5 separate regions of the Homo sapiens genome follow, and all the other regions are linked to region 1. The links are contacts of gene promoters, found by promoter capture Hi-C in human tissues and cell types (Jung and others, 2019). All regions are on one chromosome and are shown on one strand. The core of a region is centred on a gene start or on the middle of the fragment in contact, and the rest is flanking DNA. Distances in the headings are between cores, read along the strand shown. Region 1 holds the start of ENOX1 (ecto-NOX disulfide-thiol exchanger 1). Region 2 has its middle 57 kb from the start of AKAP11. Region 3 has its middle 80 kb from the start of TNFSF11. Region 4 has its middle 99 kb from the start of TNFSF11. Region 5 has its middle 21 kb from the start of FAM216B.

Region 1 (3,790 bases), core at 832-3,331:
AGTGGAGAGAGAAGCAGCTCATAGGCGGGCCTGAGTTCAAAGGAATTGAAATTTAGCATGAAATGCAAAATTGAAGACTTCTGCTTCTAAGACGATGATTGTAGAAATACCGAGGTCGAAGGATGTGGACTTGGTGCTACACCAGACAGCAGAATTAGCAGTCTGGGGTGACCCTGCATGTATTGGTCAGTGTCCATGAACACTACTCTTTACAGGAGAAAAATGCGTACCTGATAAGCTATTAGAAATGTGTATTTCTGGCCTGGAGCGGTGGCTCATGCCTGTAATCCCAGCACTTTGGGAGGCCGAGGCAGGCGGATCACTTGAGGTCAGGAGTTGGAGACCAGTCTGGAAAACATGGTGAAACTGTGTCTCTACTAAAAACTAAAAACTAAAAAAAAAAAAAAAAAAAAAAAAAAAAAAAAATTAGCCGAGCGTGGTGGCCGGCGCCTGTAATCCTAGCTACTAGGAGGCTGAGGCAGGAGAATTCGCTTGAACCCGGGAGGCAGAGGTTGCAGTGAGCCGAGATCGCGCCACTGCACTCCAGCCTGGGTGACAGAGCGAGGTTCCGTCTCAAAAAACAAAAAACAAAAGTGTATTTCTCTTAAAACTGTTTTCCCCATCCTTCTGCTCTAGAAGGGACAGTATAAACTGCTGGTGAACACTGACTTTCACATTTTGAGAGGTTAGGTTCTGAGCTTTGGCCCCCTCACACCCAGGGCATCCCACTGGGGTCCCTGCAGAGTGCTTCTACATGCATCCTTTGTTAAGGGTGCACAATGGATAAGTATTATTTTCTTTCTTTGCATTGGGGTTCTGACCGCCAGGGGGAAAAATAGCCACACACAAGGAAATGGCATAAGTTAAAATCAGGCAAGCCTAGTGGGGTGGTAATGACTTTCCCAGCATCCAAGTCTTTGCCTTCAGGTTACGTGAAGCTAGAAAACAATGTCATTCATTCAACATTTACAGGGAACTCACAAAGTACAGAGTACTATGCTAAGCACTGGAAGGCATGCAAAAGTGTGCAAAACACAATCCCTGCATTGAGGATTCCTGCCAGAAAGGGTATTTCAAGTATTACCCAGACCTTACGACCCTTGAAGAAATGCTTGTGTGAATAAAATCCCACTCAGAATTTAAAATAAGCAAGGAAAAGTATACTACTAAGACAATATATCTGTTAAGAGGCAGAGAATGTAAATGTGCTTTAAACATTTATTTCTGAAGTATTACAATGTAGTTGGGATGGAGGATCGGGGGATGTGGGTGTGTGTGGGGAGGTGGTGGGAGCGGTTCTTGGACGAGCCTGACTCTAAGGAGGCACTGCTTAGATGCCTGCACAGCTAAGTTGAATCCTAACAAAGAGGAGGCCGGCATTCTTACCTGGGAAGTGGGTAACTTTGAGAAAAAGTAGCCTCCAAGGAGGAAAAAAAGGCAACATGTCACCTGGGGTTAGGATCCCCTCACCCTTACCAACCTGAATGCTGACCGCACCCCGGCCGAGCCACTCTGGGCCGCACACCCCGCATCATCTGCCCAGGCCACGCGGCCCAATTCCACCGTCTACCCCAAGCCCACAATCCTGTAACACGCCCGCTCCAGCCTGGAGTCGGCCACGTGCGCCCGGGTTCTTCTCTTGGCCCTTCAGCGGGCCCGGCCCCTCCAAGGTCGCCGTAGCAACCGTGCGGTCCCTCTCTCGGTTCCCCCGCTCCCAGTAGAGCAGTCCCGACCGCGGCGGCGGTGGCGGGAGCGAGCGGCCTCGGCCCCTCCCGAGAGGGGGCAGCGCGACCGTGGGCTGCGGGCGCCGCCTCTGCTGCATCGGTGGCTGCGCGCTCCGCTCGGCTCTGCCGGGCTGGGATCCGGAGCCCTAGCGCGCCTCGCTGACTTCCCCTCCTCCTCTGCTGCCGCCCCGTGGGCAGCTTCTCCAAGCGAGACACGCGTTCGATCCTCCTTCCCCGCGTTTACGGATTTCCGGGGTCGTAGAATTTTGCCTCGGTCCCTACGAGCATCTCTCGGCCTCTCTCCCCCTCCCCTCGCGACTCCCCCACCCCGTGGGCGCGCGCGCACCCATACACTCACACTCGCAGGCGCGCGTGCGCACGCCCGCGCGCCTCCAGCCGCGGAGTCTCCAGCGCCCCTCAGCAGATCCCCGCTCTCCCGGGCGCCGCTACTCACACAGGCTTCCAGCCGCCACGGGGCGTCCTCTGTCTGCTGCAGCGGCGGCGGCAGCAGAGGGAACGGCGACTGCAGCCCGGCCGCGTCTCCCAGCTCCGTGCCCGGGACAGAGTCCGGGAGAAGCAAAGGAGGAGGAGGACGCCGAGGCTAGGAGGAGCCGCGCCGCGCCCGGCGCCCCACTCCGCGCAGCGGGTTGCCTCCGCTCCCCATACGGCGGCCCCAGGTAAGCAGCTCCGGGGCCCGCAGCCTCCCTGGGGCGTCCGGGCTCCGAGCCGGGGTCCTCTGGTCTCACCCCCGCCACGGCACCTGGATCTAGACTGAGAGGGGAGTGGGCGAGGGGGGAGGGGAGTGGAGCTAGAGGTGAGGCTGGTGAGGAGGGGTGCGTGGACGCGTGGGGGCTTCGGTGCAGCCCCCACGCCCTTCCCCGCCGTGCCCCGTCTCAAGCTCCCTCACTTTTACGCGCCCGGGGGTGCCCAGCGCCCCAGACAGCTGTTCCCCGCTCTCCCCTCCGCCCGCCAGCCAGTGTCAGCTCCGGGCTCCGCGCCCGCCGCGCGCCAGTCACCTCCCCTGCACCTTGGACAGCGCACCCCGCACCCGTCTCCCCCTGCGGGCGTCGCCCCCGGGACCCGTTCCTGCCCACACAGTGTTCCCGCTGCCCTCTTCTTTCAGGTTTTCACCCTCCCGCTCTGCATCCCTTTTCCTCCAGCCTTGGCGGACTCCGCTCTGCTGCGGGCCGGAAACTTTCCTCCCCGCCTAGTCTGCGCTGGGTACTGTTGTTATTCGTGACTGTCCCCTCTCGCGGGGAGCTCGGACACCTTGGACAGGTCTTCGTCGGCGGGAGCGCGCCCTGCCTGGCCCAACGCGAGGTAAAGGAGGCACTGGGGCAGCCGGACTCGGCCGCTGCCAGGGTGCAGAGCCCGCGCCTCGGCCGCTGGACGCCGGCCGCCTCCCCGCCTCTCCGGACCCGACACGTGCGAGCCTCCCACGGACGCGGCCCCTCCCAGACCACCCCACGTCCTCCCCCTGCACGGCCACAGCCACCCCATAGGTTGGACACCCGGGGCTCGCGGGTCCTGATTGGCTGAAGGCGTAACCCCGCCCTCTTTCGGAAGGGGGGTGGTTCTGGAGTGTTGTGGTTGTCATCCCGCGGCGAGCACATGGGGAAAGTGGGGTCGACAGGTGGGCAAGCCCAGCTCTGTGGAATCTCTGCGTCTCACTGTATAGCCACTGAGCCACGCTTCTTCACCCAGATACACTCCTGCTTCTCTCCTTTTCTCTCCCTCAATCTTTCACTGCTGTAACATTACATGAAAAAAACTGGCTTTGTAATCCCAATTTTGTTAAGATTGCATTTGTTTGGTGGTAGCAATTTTTAAAAGCAGACCCAGGAGAATGCAGGAAATACGTGCGTATGGAAAGGTTCCTGGCCAACTGGGCTGCAGATTTGAGTCTGGTAGTTTGGAGAAAGCAATGAAGCGTGCTTAAGGGATCTGAAGAGGGTGGAGAAAGTGGGAAGGAAATTGATTCCTGGAGGAGAGACGCAGGTGAGCGAGCTTGGAAAGCTGAGCTGGTGGGCCCGCTCGAGAGGTGGGTGCGTGCTGTTGGAGACGGC
Region 2 (3,790 bases), core at 740-3,239, 1.5 Mb after region 1:
TTTTGTGAGACATGGAAACCATGCATGAAATGGCCTCTATTGCTGTCAGCTCTGACAGGCAGCAAAAGAATGAAGGCAAAGAAAGAAGAAAACCATATAGTTAAGCTGAGATAATAAAAACTTGTGCCTGGTTTCTGGAAGGCACCCAGAGATCCTTTTTACATGTTGTCCTTCTCAAAATTTATCTACTTAAAATCCTTACTTTGTAAAGATTGTCAGCTGTATCAGTCTGAAGCTCAAAGCAATACCACATAAGAAGACAAAGAGAATCCGACTATGTAACAGTCAGAACAAAGAGCCCCAACCAAGATATTTCCAGCCATGACAATGGCCAGATTCATCATTGCCAAACTTGAAAAGGCCAAAGGTCAGTTTGGGGGTTTTAAAATGTTTTTGACAAATATTTATGAAATAAGGGAAATTTCACTTGTTTAAAATATGTATGTGGGAGTAAAAACGGGAAAGAAATATACTACTATATAAATAATTGTTATCTATGTGATATGGTTTGGCTGTGTCCCCACCTAAATCTCATCTTGAATTCTAGTTCCCATAATCCCCACGTGTCATGGGAGGGACCTGGGGGGAGGTCATTGAATCATGGGGGTGGTTACCCTCATGCTGTTCTCGTGATAGTGAGTTCTCACGAGATCTGATGGTTTTGTAAGGGGCTTTTCCTCCACTTCGCTCTGCACTTCTCCTTGATGCCACCATGAGAAGAAGGACATGTTTGCTTCCCCTCCCACCAAGATTTTAAGTTTCCTGAGGCCTCCCCAGCCATGCTGAACTGTGAGTCAATTAAACCTCTTTCCTTTATAAATTACCCAGTCTCAGGTATGTCTTTATTAGCAGTGTTAGAACAGACTAATACACTATGTGTTATTACAAGTGATTTTGTCATCTTTTTATATTTCTGTTTCTAAATTTGGTGATAGATTGTAGTGCAATGGACAGAACTTGGGCATTGGAGCCTGCCAGACCTGGGCATTCATTACCACTATGCTCATTGGGTAAGAAACTTAACCCCTCTGAGCCTCAGCTTCTCACATGAAAAACAGAAATAATAATGACAGGGTTGATACTGGATTCAATGATAGGAAATGCTTGCCATAGAGAGTAAACAGGAATTATTATATGAACCTGCATTACATTTTAGGTGCTCACTCTTTCTCTTTCATTTTCTATTTTAATTCTTATTTTAAACAGTGCTATTTCCTTATAAGCTCAATTTCCTTCTTACAAAAGTAATATATCCTTCAGTAGTTTTTTTCAGCACAGTTCATTGTAAACTCTTTCAATCTATTAGAAATTACTTTAAATTTACATTCACTCTTGAAAAACAGTTTTGAAGGATATGAAATTCTAGACTGACTTTTTTAAAATCAGCACTTTGAAGACATTATTTCCTTTTGGCTTCTATCATCATCTTTGAGCACACTACTGTGAATCAATTTTGTTTTTCAGGTAACCCATTTGTTCTCTCTGGTTGTCTTCAAGATGATCAGTTTTGCAGATTTTTTTTAGATGTGTGTGCATGTGCATACACATGCATGATGTGAAATATATACACAGAATTGCTTAGAATCTATCTGGGCAGTTTAACCACAATCCAAAGTCAAGAAAACAGAATATTGTTGGCACCATGGGAGGCTCCTGTACCTCCTTCTCCCCTAGAAGTAACCACTATCCTTACTAAATGATTTGGTCATTTCCTGTTTTTTGAAACTTTCAGATTTGTATCCAACTACAAGTTACAAAAGCCAATCTAAGTTTTGAAAGGTCCTGTATAGCACAGTGCTGATGGAACAGAAACTGGTAACAGTGGTTATCTCTGGGGGTGGTGGGGGTACTTGGTGGCTAGAGAGTGGTGAGAGGGATACTTGTCACTATACATTCTTATACCTTTTGGAATTTAATACCATATGCATATATAACCCTTTCAAGAAGATAAATTAAAATGTAAAAGAAAATTAAAAGGATATTAACAGTTAATCACATGGAGCTAAGCAAAAAAAATAATAATAATAAAAGTCCTTCATGTAAATTAAAATATTAGAAGTAATTAAGTTGGATAAAATATGAAACATCTGGAGGCCCAGTGGCTCACACCTGTAATCCCAGCACTTTGGGAGGCCAAGGCGCGTGGATCACCTGAGGTCAGGAGTTTGAGACCAGAATGGCCAAGATGGTGAAACCCCGTCTCTACTAAACATACAAAAAATTAGCCAGGCGTGGTGGCGGGCACCTGTAATCCCAACTACTCCAGGGGCTGAGGCAGGAGAATTGCTTGAACCTGGGACGCAGAGGCTGCAGTGAATGTAGATCGCACCACTGCACTCCAGCCTGGGCGACAAGAGTGAAACTCCGTCTCAGAAAAAAAAGAAACACCTTCTTGAAAGCATTTAAACAGCTAGTAAGATATTGAGGATGCAATGGGTCAAATATCTAGCAAAAGCAAAGAACCCCAAGAAGTAAACCACTGAGCATTCAAAGCCACTCTTTCATCCTAAGAATATTTGTCAAACCTGAAGGAAAAAAGACTGTGATACAGGATAGTATTTTGGCAGACTCACAAGGCCAGAAAGGCAAAAGTCAGTTCTCCCCACCCCCTCCAACAAAGAGATTCTCATAAACCATCCCCTCTCTACTTGTAACCCCAAAGGGCTACACCTTCCAGACACAGGCCCTGACCTGGACATGCAGCACATCAAGCCACCAGAGGGATCCAAAACCCTCAAAGCTTGAATTTAAATCAAGGTGCTCCAAGACTAGCTGTGCCCCCAGGCACCTGCCAGAAGAAAATGAAAATCCCCCAAGATACCATCATCCTGGGCCTTTGCTCTGGGATTTTAAATCAAGTTCTTTTGACCCCAGAGCCCAGGTTCTTAACAACTTCACTAAACGACTGTGGAAAAAATTAAGTAGTGTGTGGGAAAGGACGTGTTGGAACACAAAGGTCACCTAATCCAAAGTTATAAGCTGTTTGGATTTCTTATCAAAACTTGCAGGAGTGATCAGCCAGCACTGTGGAAACCTCTCCAAGGGCCAGAAATGCTCCTTTTCATTAAGGGGGTCTCGCCCATATTGCAAAGCTCCAATTTTTAGAGCACAAGCTGAAATCCACTGCTAATTTCTCCTCATGGGACCTCATCCCCTCCACTAGGGTCACAGGTTTTAATCTGTCTCCACTAAAAGCACTTCATATATTTAAAGGCAGTTTTGAGGTTACTCCTACATCTCTCCTTCTTTAGGCCAAACAGCCTTTTTGTCTTTCACTGAACTCATTTAATACATTTTTAGCTCCTTGGCCTCATTAGACAGTCATGGATGTGGATGGTTCCATGTATCTCTGTCCTTTGTAAAATGGTATCGGGAACTAAACACAATACTCTAGGCATGGTCTGGAAAGCACAGTGTCAAGTGAAGACGATCATCCGCCATGCCTTGGACTTAAAACCGGTGACTTGTGGTGTAACAAACTACAAACACTTTCTTGGACCACCTGGCTGACAGCCAGCTAGATGTGTGTTTCTCAGGATGTGTCACTTCTCTTCATGCTCCAGCCAAACTGGTCTTTGGTTTTCCAAAGAAGTCCTATACTCCCGGGCATTTGTGCATGGTTTTTCTCTAGTGGAAACCTCTTCTCCCCACCTGCCCTTCTCACCTCCACCCTCCAACTCCCCTTGTCTGGTTCCTACTCAGTTCAAACCTAGCTTAAGCCTCAGAACGGCTTTAGGGAAGCTTTGACTAGATTCCCGTCTTTAGCTTCCGACACCTTTGAACAACAGTA
Region 3 (3,790 bases), core at 479-2,978, 1.1 Mb after region 1:
AGCAGAATTGCATCTAGAATCTTCGGGTGAGCTACTAGCCTGCAAATGCAGACCAAATCTAGATAGACACATGGCATCTACAAATTTCCAACAACCACCTCTTTGTGTGTACAGGTATACTTGGATATACTTTAGCAAAAGACAGGTCCTGGGTACAGTCTAACAGAGTTAAGTGTACAAAGATAGCACTGCTTTAGCATTGGCTCAGCATGTGTTTTATATTGTTTTGAAAATGGACATGATGGATTCACTTTGACTCTGTATTCACCATGGGTGGGGAAGCTGCTCGGTCTGACTTTTGGACCCAGATACCTGAGCAATCTGACCAAAGTGGCATGAGGTGGAAGATGGGGAGTTGTGACTCCTTGTTCTATGTAGGAGCCTTTTCCAGTCCTTCCATTTCTGCCACAACAAAACTGCCTTACATCCCACAAGAGGACACATTTCACCATTGCCCTGTCCCTAAGAAGGAGCCAGAAAGACAAAACCAACAAAACCGCACCGACCACTTTAAACACCCAGATCTTGGAATAATAGGTTTCCAAATAATAGGTTTCCAATAATCATGTTTTAACATCTGCACACAGACTTTCACTGTGCTTTGCGTGTTTACAACCGTCTGAATCAATCTCATGGAGATATCCAAAGACTTAAAATGTAAACATTGATTCCTTTGGTCATTTCTTTTCTATATTCCTACACTTTTTCATTTTGTATCAAAACCTTTAGATTTGAAGCACAGATCCTCTGACCCTTCAACTCATGCTTCTGGTCTCCAATAAATATCAGGGAAGCTTTCAGAGATGGGGTGAAGAAATCTAATTTTCCAAATTAGAACTCCCTTTCATTCACAGGCAACAAGACTTCTAGGAAAAGCTAGATGTAGCTGTTTAAAATCCTAACTATTAAATCTGGAAGGATTTTGAAGTTAAATGATGAAATAGGTGCTTTCCTCATCTAGTGAGCAAGCTCTGCTTCACTGTGTCATGCAGGCATTCTCTTTAGTTTTATGAGTGTTTTCATTTTGAAAACTTGATATCTTATTACTGAAAATTCTACTCCTTTGAAGGAGGGGATTAGGAAGATACTGTTCCAAAGCAACAAAATTTCGATTAGACAGGAGAAATAAACTAAAGATTTCTCTTGTATGACATGGAAACTGTAGTTAATAGCAATGTATTTTATACTTCAAAACTACTAAGAGAATAGATTTTAAGTGTTCTCACTGGAAATAAATGATAAGTATGTGAGGTAAGGCATATGTTAATTAACTTGATTTACTCATTCCACAATGTATATATATATTGAAACATAATGTTGTACACCATAAATATACACAATTTTTGTCAATTAAAAAATTAATTAATTCTGCTTTGAGTTGGTGTTTGCAAAAAATCAATAAACAAAGAGGAATAAAAAGAAAAAAGAGGAAAAAGAACAAAAAATAAAAGAAGAAAATTTAAAAATAAAAATAAGTTAATAAGTTATTTAAAATTAATATTTTAAAATAATTTTTATTTAGTAAAAGATTATTACTAAATTAATAAAAATAATTATTAATTGATTGTTCACCTCCTTTTTCTGTTTTCCTGAGTTTTCCTCCTTTTCATTGACCATTGCTTTATGATCTCCTCCATACAATGATTACATTTCTCTTCTCCTAGCACTTACTCCACTCCAAGATACTGTTTTGGGGAGAAGGGCAGGACTTCTCCACATCCATTTCCCTTCAGGGGCTTTTTGGCTCGTATTCTCCTCACCCAGAGGCATACAGGCAGAAGGATAAACCCTGGGGGTGCACACTCTATGACCCACTTCTCATCATGCTGTTCTCTAGGCAGTGACCACATCAACCTATATTTAAATTTTTGCAAAACCAGGCCAGGTCTCACGTTGTCACACACACAGTAACAGACATCCTGAGTTGGCTTTTGTGTTGTGCTGGCCCCTAGTTTGTTTCTTGTCTCTTTTAAGTCAACCGAAATCCATGCAAATGGGAAGGTGCTTGCCTGACACATGATTTATTACTCAGCCTTTGCAGGATCTGTACATTTCATTTGAATATTTGCAATCACATGCAAGTTGCGCCTGGGTGCTCTGTATGTTGAAGGCAGGAATCTTTACTGCACTAACTAAGACATATTATTCACTACTCTAGAGGTAACAAACAAATTGATTTATCCAGGTATCTACTGCTCACCCAGCAGCTGTTGGAGTCAGAATCATTGGCTTAGAAAATCCATCAGAATTAAAGAGCAAATTTCAAAATAAATTGTTATCGTTTACATCTGCAGCCTGGCTGCATATACCCTGTGAAATGTTCTTTTTACATAAATGTTTCTTAAAAGCTCTTTTTAGTAAATACAGTTATGAAAGCAAGTGCCTCAGGAGCTTTTCCAGTGACAACAGCCACTGACCTTGTGATGCTGAGGTGGGCTTTCAACTTCATCTGATTTATGTTAACAACAAGCTGGCTCACCAAAATATGTCAGAACTCTTGAATCATCAAAGATCTCCCAACTCTGAAGGAGCAAACAATCTAGAAACAGAAAATGGCTGCTCATCCATTCTGCTGAATATTGACAGGAGCCTAGTCCAGTGTTCTCTTCCATGCTGTAAGAAACCAGCCTGTTGCATGGCAAAAGTGACAACATCTTGGAGTGAAACCACCATGATAACTGATGTTTAATTCCTGCAGAGACCAAGGTATTCAGCAAGGTCTTTAAACAATGGCTGTGGTATAGACAAGCCCTCATAAAGATGCTTATCTAACTTTCCTAGTGGTCATGTGTTTTGCAAGAAAGTCTGAAGTGTGATCAGCTGCTAATGCCTTTCACCTAAAATCATGCTATTTAAAGGATGCTTTCTGGAGGGCAGGTTTTGGGGATCCACCATCTTAAGGCTGCCCAAGACATTGCTTCTGTTAATAAGTCCCCATTAAATATTTCTTTCTGAGAAACTGGAGTTGTCAGCCTCTTTCTTCAACCTCTCAGCTCCCTTGGCCTTTGGGGCGGGTTTTCATAGACCTGCTCACTGTGAAACACACACAGTAAGACAGACATTTTGTGAAGCATTCCTCAGGTCCTAGACATTCCTTGCCAGAAATGTTGATTGGCTCTTCTCTCCTGAACAATTCAGCTTATGTATCCCTTCCAAAGTATCCTTCAGATGACCATGGTTATCATACCCATTTAACAGGAAAATATGAGACTCAGAGAGGAAGTCTCTTTTGGCAATTTTGTGGCAAATATGAAATGAAATGTTCAGAACTCCACTTAATCCAAAACCATTGCTAGCTTTCAGTGAATCAAGTTGCCTCCCCTGACTTTATACAAAAAATACTTTCTGAGGTGTCCTGATGTGATTGCCTTCAGTGACTTTTCAACTAGTCTGATAATCTCGGCCCCAAGGTTACCTGCTCTCATCTTTTAGCTAGAAGTAAGCCACGTTGCCTAGTGGGGTTTGGAGTGCGATGCCTTGAATAATTTCTGCTCCACACTTGCCCGCTGTGTGACCTCAGACACATTACCAGGTTGAACCAGGTGAGATATGAGATTGCCATATCTGTGGGTCAAAAACAGTCAAACATTAGCAATTTTATATGATTCAGCTTTAATTTCTCTAAAATTTCGTTTCTTCCTCTGGGAAAAGAGACAAGCTAAAAGAACTTACTTTTTGGGGTTCCTATGAAAATCAAATGAGATAATACCTGTCAAAGCCTAGCATAGTACTTGGTACAGAAGAAGTGCAGCTGCTTTTATCATTTCCAGTGGGGGCGTCAATTAGAAGT
Region 4 (3,790 bases), core at 356-2,855, 1.1 Mb after region 1:
TTTGCAGATCCTGCACTTGATGGATCAGCTGCTGCTACCCAGATCTATTAAAGTGGCTCATCTGATCTTGTGGCCCCCATCTAGGAACTGACCCAGCACAAGAAGACAGCTTTGACTCACTAATATTTCATCTCCAACCTGACCGATCAGCGCTCCTTGCTCATTGGCCCCCACTACCCACCAAATTATTCTTAAAACCTCAGATCCCCAAACGCTCAGGAGACTGATTTGAGTAATAATAAAACTCTGGTCTCCCACACAGCCATCCCCACATGGATTACTCTTTCTCTATTGCAGTTCCCCTGTCTTGATAAATTGGCTCTGTCTAGGCAACCAGCAAGGTGAACCTGTTAGGCAGTCACAGTTCTGTCCTCAGTGAGAGCAGGTGGAAGGAATGTGGATTTCACTTCTTTTCACGTTTGTGTAGCAGACCCCAAACCCAGCACATTTCAAAGGAAGGACTGGCTCTTGACCAGCGGCTGCAAGATATTCTCTGAGCCTTTGGAATATCCTGCCTGATAAGTTTGTCTTTGTATACCCGGGGCCTAGGGCCGCACCAGATAGTTTATGCTGACAATGTTCCTTATGGTAGATGCATGCTTTTGTATACCTGAGGCTGTGGACCATGCTGTGTCAGTTTGGCCTTTTAGGGAAGCTGGAGACTGAGTAGCTAAGGCCAGTCCTATGGGCACTACCTGTCTACATGACTGGTTCCCAATAAAACTCACTGGACACCAAGGCTGAGGTGAGCTTCCCTGTTTGGCAATACTTAGTACATGTTGTCACCCATTGTTGCTGAGAGAATTAAACACTGTCTATGCAACTCCACCGGAAGAGGATAACCGGAAGCTCTGTCCCTCATCTTTCCTAAAATCTGACCTATGTATCTTTCTCCTTTGCTGCTTCATCCATATCCTTTTGCTGTAATAAACCATAACCATGAGTGTAACTGCTTTTCTGGGCCTCGTGAGTCTTTCTAGTAAATCATCAAACCTGAGGGTGGTCTTGGGGACCACTGGCACAATGTCTTACCCTATCTCCTTCCCTTCATCTTCTTCTGATATACTGACATTTTCTTTTTCTTTTCTAATTTCCTTTCCTTCCCCAAATGCCAGTAAAGGGCAGATGGTAACCTCTCGTGGCTGGGCATCTTTCTTTCCATACCTCAATAATTGCTAACAACTGTAAAATGAGAGTGAGATGGGCCTGTATTATAATTCTTTCTATTCTTAGATCTCAAATCACTTGACAAACAGCATTTAATCCTCCAAATAGCAAAGGACCATATAGTGTGATTCTTTCCACTGCACAAATGAGAAAACCAAGATCCAGGCATGACAGATTGTCCATGCCTTACAGAGCTGTCCACAGGCCATGCTTGAGAATGACAAAACTGGCCTTACTGGTTATTGCTTCTGGTCCTCCACTCCTCAGCTCTTGTTAAGACCACCTGATTAAATCATGACAGTATTGAGAAAAATGACTTTGAAAAGAGGCCGACTCCCGTGCTTTCTGCTTCTCCCTGCTCCCTGGGGGACACATTCTCAGTCAGATGTTCTTCCCACCAATTTCATTAGCACTGAGTTATAAGGATAAAAATATCCCACCCCTGTCACTGACAAGTTACCTTCTGCATGGAACTTACCGAGTCATCTTTTCTTTGGTAATATTGTCAGTGACATGTTTGTTGCTGTCAGCAAGGCAAAGGCAGTGCAACTGATTCAGGGTGACCTGGGCTCTGTTCCGCTCTGAACATCAATAAAATTGCCAGGTCTGCTTGGATTTCAGAATTTGTATTGTAGGTAATGATGATATATGAGCTCATGGAATATATTTGATCTTCAGTGATAAGAATTGTTCTGGCAGCTAAGGATGGAAAAAAATCATTTTGATCTACAGTATGGACAGGTTTCTTCTGATATGGATGTCATCAGTAGAAAATGCAAATGAGCACCAAGATGCCACTTCTACCCAGAGAATCGGCCCATATTGTCAAAGGAGTGAAAGCTGCAATGTGCCAGAGAAGCTGAGAAGGGATGGGGAGTGGGGTGGGGAAAAAGTCAACTGGGGAAACCAAATTTCAAGTCACCTGAATTCTATTCACGCTCTATTATGCCCAGCCTCTAGTGTCATGCTGAGGACACAATCACGTTCAAGCAAATGATTACCGTCCGTGCACCCAGGTAATCTGAAAAGACAATTATGGCCCAGGAAGGCAGTTTCTGCAAGGCAATCAGGATGTGGCAGGGGCCAACTGACACAGCCCCCAGTTGAGACTTTGAGGAACAGTCGGACGCTAGTGGTAATTAAAAGTGCCGAGCAGCACTGGGGAGGCTGCCTGGGCTGGAGTTTCTGGGAGGAAGCTCCTTCCCTGCCCCTGCTCCCTGTCAGCAGGAGCAGAACAGATTCTCCTGCTGGGTTGAACTGTTCTAAATAAGACTTTTTGCGTGCAATAAAATATACATAACATAACATTTACCATTTTAACAATTCCGAGTGTGCAGTTCAGTGGCATTAAGTATAGTCACATCATTGTGCAGCCGTCCCAATCATCACATCTCCAGAGCTTATTCATCACCCCCAACAGAAACTCTGTACCCATTACATAACTCCCCTTTCCACCTGCCCCCCTCTGTCCCTGGGAACTACTATATTCTTTTCTGTCTCTATGAATTTTCTAGATATAGCATAAGTAGAATCATACAATATTTGCCCTTTTGTGCATGGTTCATTTTATTTAGCACGTTTTCTGGGTTCATCCGTGTTGTGGCATGTATCAGAATCTCATTCTCTTTTTAAGGCTGAATAACATTCCATTGTATGTATATAACACATCTTGTTTATCCATTCATCCTTTGATGGACGTTGGGGTTTTTTTCCAGCTTTTGGCTTTTGTGAATAATGCTGTTATGGGTGTATAAATGTGTTTACATTTTTACTTTTCATTATTTTGAGTTTATACCCAGAATTGGAATTGCTGGATCATATGGTAATTCTATGTTTAATTATTCTAGGAATCACCATATAAATTAAAAAAATTTTTTTTGAAACAGCGTCTTCCTTTGTCACCCAGGCTGGAGTACAGTGGTATGATCATGACTCACTGAAGCTTCGACCTTCTGGGCTCAGTCAAGCCTCCAACCTCTGCTTCCCAAGTAGCTGGTACCACAAGGATGTGCCACTATGCCCATCTAATTTCTAAACATTGTTTTTAGAGAAAGGGTCTCGCTATATTGCCAAACTCCCGGGCTCAAGCAATCCTCTTGCCTTGGTCTCCCAAGGTGCTGGGGTTACAGGCATGAGCCACCGCACCCAGCCAATAGAAAATTTTAAATGTAGAAAACCTCTTAGTGTTTTAGAGAAGCCCTTTTGTGGCAGGTTGAGCAACTACCATATATTGTATGGGGAAAATTACTATAGGAAGAAGGTAGGCTGCCCCTCACACAGTAATCCTGTATCTATAATATAATCCTTGGCTGTCAAACGCCTTTAGAGCTCTATTCATGTACACACACTACTAGGTGCTAGGGATGCAGCAGTGAAAACGACAGGAGCCAACCCCGCCAAGGGAAACAGAGGGAGATAAGTTGGCATATGGGGGAAGGGCAGCTAGGGTGAGGGACACCAAAGCTCAGCTGAGAAGTGAAGCCAAGAAATGCCAGTTGCTGCTTATCGAATGCCTGATAGAAGTCAGAAGCTAGCCGTTTCTTAACATAGCCTAATTTAATCTTCACAAGTATTATCATTACTCCATTTTACCGATGAGCAAACTGTGAGGCTCGAAGAGGGA
Region 5 (3,790 bases), core at 899-3,398, 1.0 Mb after region 1:
TATATTCTTACTCCCTCTAGAAAATTGGGATACTTGAAAAATCTCTCACACGCTTGCTGTTGTTCAAGAGTGCCTACGGTGGTTTTGATGTTGATCAAACTTACTACCTGAGATGCCATTCAGCTAGTGTGGAGATGTGAATACATGCAAAGTGTATGCTCTGAATTGCAATTCCTTCTTTATATTATTTACTCTGCCTGGTGCTTTCAAGTTCCCATTTTGTTTTTCTTCCTGGAGAAGACAGAAGCAAAATAGGAGTTGAGTGATTCTGCTCTCTGTCATTTGTTAAAGTGTATTCAACATTCCTCAACCCTCTGTGTGTTTATCTGTTTCTTCTTACTTTTCACAGTTTAAAAAAAATCCCTTTCTGTTGTTCTGACATTGTTTTCAAGTTTCAGCTCATTCTGGAATGTTGCGTGTCTGACATCATTTTACAGGTCTGAGCCACTTACTCAACCAGTTTATGGAGCACACATTCCAATGGAGGAAGATAGACAATAAACACCATAAAAAGGTGAGTTATATTATATATTATAAGGCAAGCGCAGTGGAAAAAATAGAGGATCACAGAGATTTGGAGTTCCGAGTTAGGGGCTGAGTTGCAGGTTTAAACAGGTGGTCAAGGTCTCCTGGATGGCCCAGCAGTGGGCTAATCCTTTGTGACCGATATTAATTACGTGTCTCTTTCTCCTTTTTATGCATAGGCACTTATGTTCTGAATCAATTGTAGAAAACAAGAGGCTGTCACGTTTATTACCCCTTCAATTTTCCACTAACAACCCTCTCTCTTTCCCATCTTCTTTCAGTTAGGGACTAAGATCCACAGACTAAACCTGTGTCCAGTTCTTAATTTCAGCTGTCAAATAATCTTCTCTTAGCACACTGTAGGCACTTAGCAAATAGTTATTAAATGAATAGAAAAATGAATAAAGGCCACTAGCTATTATTGACTCTCACTAGCTAATAATAAAAGATAAATAATAATTGATATTAAAGCTTCTGGGAATATAATCCCTTGATTGGGATTCTTTGGAGAAATACAATGCAAGACAGAAAGTAGACAAAGAGGCTGGGCTCAGTGGCTCATGCCTGTAATCCCGGCACTTTGGGAGGCCGAGGCAGGAGGATCACGAGGTCAGGAGTTTGAGACTAGCCTGGCCAACATAGTGGAACTCCGTCTCTACTAAAAATACGAAAAATTAGCTTGGTGTGGTGGTGGGCGCCTGTAATCCCAACTGCTTGGGAGGCTGAGGCAGGAGAATCACTTGAAGCCAGGAGGCAGAGGTTGCAGTGAGTTGAGATTGTGCCACTGCACTCCAGCCTGGGAGACAGTGCGAGACTCCATCTCAAAAAAAAAAAAAGAAAGTAGACAAAGAAACAGTAGGTGAGGGGTTTACGGTTTGGGGCTGAACCCCACCCTTCATGCAGTGCTTTGAGGAATGCCTTGAGATAGGTGGGCATCGAAGTTCACTGCCTGAAGGTGCCCCTGAACTTGGGAACTGTACACTCAGACAAGGATTCTGTGAGACTAGGGAATGGAAAAATCACCCGTGAGGTATTTTCCATGTAGCTTTTAATTTTTCAAGCGAGCTTTGCTGTCAGTCACCACAAAACAAACAGCAAGCAGTTTTTCCCAGGGTCCCACATCTTGGGCGGGCTGGACGCAAAAGGCCCTTGCCAAAAATTCCTGAACTGACTATGCTGTTAGTAGGGAAACAAAACAGCAATTCACAAATCATGGGGTTCTGACGTACTGTGTAAAAAAACTATCTGGAACACACTTTTTTCCTTGGCTTGAAATAGGCAAATGGTGGGAATCTAATGCATTCTGTATTCTGTGGACACAGATAAGGAGAAAAAGTAACTTAGAAGATAAGTGACCATATCATTTTTTGATAGTGAAAGGGTCTCTACGATTAATCAGAATGGGAAACAGGCATAAGCCAAGACTTTCTCAGGCAAATTAGAATATATGGTGATCCTATGTAGAAGAAAATACTGTAGGCAAAAGTGTACAGAGAAGTGTAGGTAAAATTTAGTATTTTTTTTCCCTACAGCCCATTTTATATGCCTTTGACACTGCCATCTCCAATCATAGAATCACCACATCGCAGAGTTGTAAAGCTCAAAGTGGGCTTAGAGATCATCTGTGCCCATCTACTCAAAAGAAAATCCAGGCACTCAGTAGTGTAGGCAAGCAACTGAAAGCTGGTTAGAAATGCAGAACCTCAGCTGGGTGCAGTGACTCACGCCTGTAATCCCAGCACTTTGGGAGGCAGAGGCAGGCAGATCACCTGAGGTTGGGAGTTCGAGACCAGCCTGACCAACATGGAGAAACCCCATCTCTACTAATAATACAAAAATTAGCCGGGCGAGTTGACACATGCCTGTAATCCCAGCTACTCGGGAGGCTGAGGTACGATAATTGCTTAAATCTGGGAGGCAGAGGTTGCGGTGAGCCGAGATTGCGCCATTGCACTCTAGCCTGGGCAATAAGAGCGAAACTCCATCTCAAAAAAAAAAAAAAAAAAAAAAGAAATGCAGAACCTCAGGCCTCAACCCATACCTGTTGAAATAGAGTCTGTTTTGACAAGATCCCAGGCGATCCATATGCCTATCTATGTTTGAGAAGCACTGATTTAAGCCATTTAACAAATTAAGAAACTGGCATTCCAGGAGATTAAAAATCTTGGTCAAGGTCTACTAGTTATATCCAGGGCAGAATCTCATCTATTCCATCAGGATAGTTTTATTTCCAATATGCAATGGTTCTCCCCTGCCTACCCTATCTATAAAAGCCTGAGGCTAGCAGAGAATAGACCTGAATTCTAGGCCTGCTTTCACCTCAAATTCAGGAGAGTCACTGCCTCCAGTTTCCTTAGAGGTAAAAAGAGGAAATTTGACTATGTTGGCTACTAAGTATCCTCCCTTCAAATTCTAAAGTTCTATAGCTCTATGAGTTGTGGAGCATCTAGGAAGCCTGCAGCTAGACGAGAGGCATCATGGAAAATGTAGTGGAGGACAAGTGTCTTGATTAATGCCTTTCATGAGGAAGAGGAAGGGCATTCCAGAAGGTGAAATGGCAGATGCAATCATTTGTTCAGAGAAGGGAGTATTTGGGTACAAAGGAGGGAGGTGGTATGGGTTATTTGCAAATTAGAAGACAAAATTTAAAAAGGCATATTTAAGCGCATTCTTCGTAAATTTAGACAGTGCATTAAAAAATAGCCTCTAAGTTAACAACATTTTTCCTCAGTTGGAGATAACATTTGTATTCACAGCTTCTAAAATGTTTCCTCCCCAACTTTGTGCACCTGTGGCTAATGGGCAGTGTGATGGTTGATTTTATGTGTCAAGTTGGCTAGACTAGGATGCCCAGTTGTTTGGTCAAACACTAGTCTAGATGTTGTTATAAGGGTAGTTTTTAGATGTGACTAACATTTATAATCAGTGCACCTTAAGTAAATCAGATTACCCTCCATAATGTGGGTGGACCTTGGTTGAAGGTCTTAATAGCAAAGACCAAGGTTTCCCAAGGAAGGAAGAATTTTGCCTCAAGTTTCCTGAAGAAGAAGGAATTTTGCATTACAATCTTTCCTAAATTTTCAGCCTGCTGGCCTGCCCTGTGGATTTGGGACTCAAGGCTGCAACATTAACTCTTAGCCGAGTTTCTAGCCTGCCAGCCTTCCCTACAAATTTCAAACCTGCCAGCCCCCACAATTGTGGGAGCCAGTTCTATAAAATATTCCTTCCCCTTCCTACCCACCCCACTCTCTCTCCTATCCTATTG

The links. The method cuts DNA at HindIII sites, captures the fragments that hold promoters and counts their contacts. A contact is called where the count stands out against the background at its distance.
Region 2: a contact is called between a fragment that was not itself captured here and the fragment with the promoter of ENOX1 in region 1, in 1 of the 25 tissues and cell types used here (mesenchymal stem cells).
Region 3: a fragment that was not itself captured here is called in contact with the fragment with the promoter of ENOX1 in region 1 in 1 of the 25 tissues and cell types used here (lymphoblastoid cells).
Region 4: a contact is called between a fragment that was not itself captured here and the fragment with the promoter of ENOX1 in region 1, in 1 of the 25 tissues and cell types used here (lymphoblastoid cells).
Region 5: a fragment that was not itself captured here is called in contact with the fragment with the promoter of ENOX1 in region 1 in 1 of the 25 tissues and cell types used here (lymphoblastoid cells).

Annotation. Positions count from the first base shown.
Region 1 is chr13:43,785,263-43,789,052 of GRCh38, reverse strand. It overlaps ENOX1 (ecto-NOX disulfide-thiol exchanger 1), which reads left to right and starts at 2,081. Exons shown (of 17, transcript NM_001347969.2): 1 at 2,081-2,401. The HindIII fragment of the contact is 9,406 bases long and covers 1-3,790 here.
Region 2 is chr13:42,326,838-42,330,627 of GRCh38, reverse strand. No RefSeq gene overlaps it. Among named protein-coding and RNA genes, the nearest start is that of AKAP11, 57 kb to the right of the region's middle. The HindIII fragment of the contact is 4,917 bases long and covers 1-3,790 here.
Region 3 is chr13:42,652,130-42,655,919 of GRCh38, reverse strand. No RefSeq gene overlaps it. Among named protein-coding and RNA genes, the nearest start is that of TNFSF11, 80 kb to the right of the region's middle. The HindIII fragment of the contact is 5,098 bases long and covers 1-3,790 here.
Region 4 is chr13:42,671,498-42,675,287 of GRCh38, reverse strand. No RefSeq gene overlaps it. Among named protein-coding and RNA genes, the nearest start is that of TNFSF11, 99 kb to the right of the region's middle. The HindIII fragment of the contact is 4,331 bases long and covers 1-3,770 here.
Region 5 is chr13:42,759,059-42,762,848 of GRCh38, reverse strand. No RefSeq gene overlaps it. Among named protein-coding and RNA genes, the nearest start is that of FAM216B, 21 kb to the left of the region's middle. RefSeq lists an enhancer at 1-248. The HindIII fragment of the contact is 3,460 bases long and covers 419-3,790 here.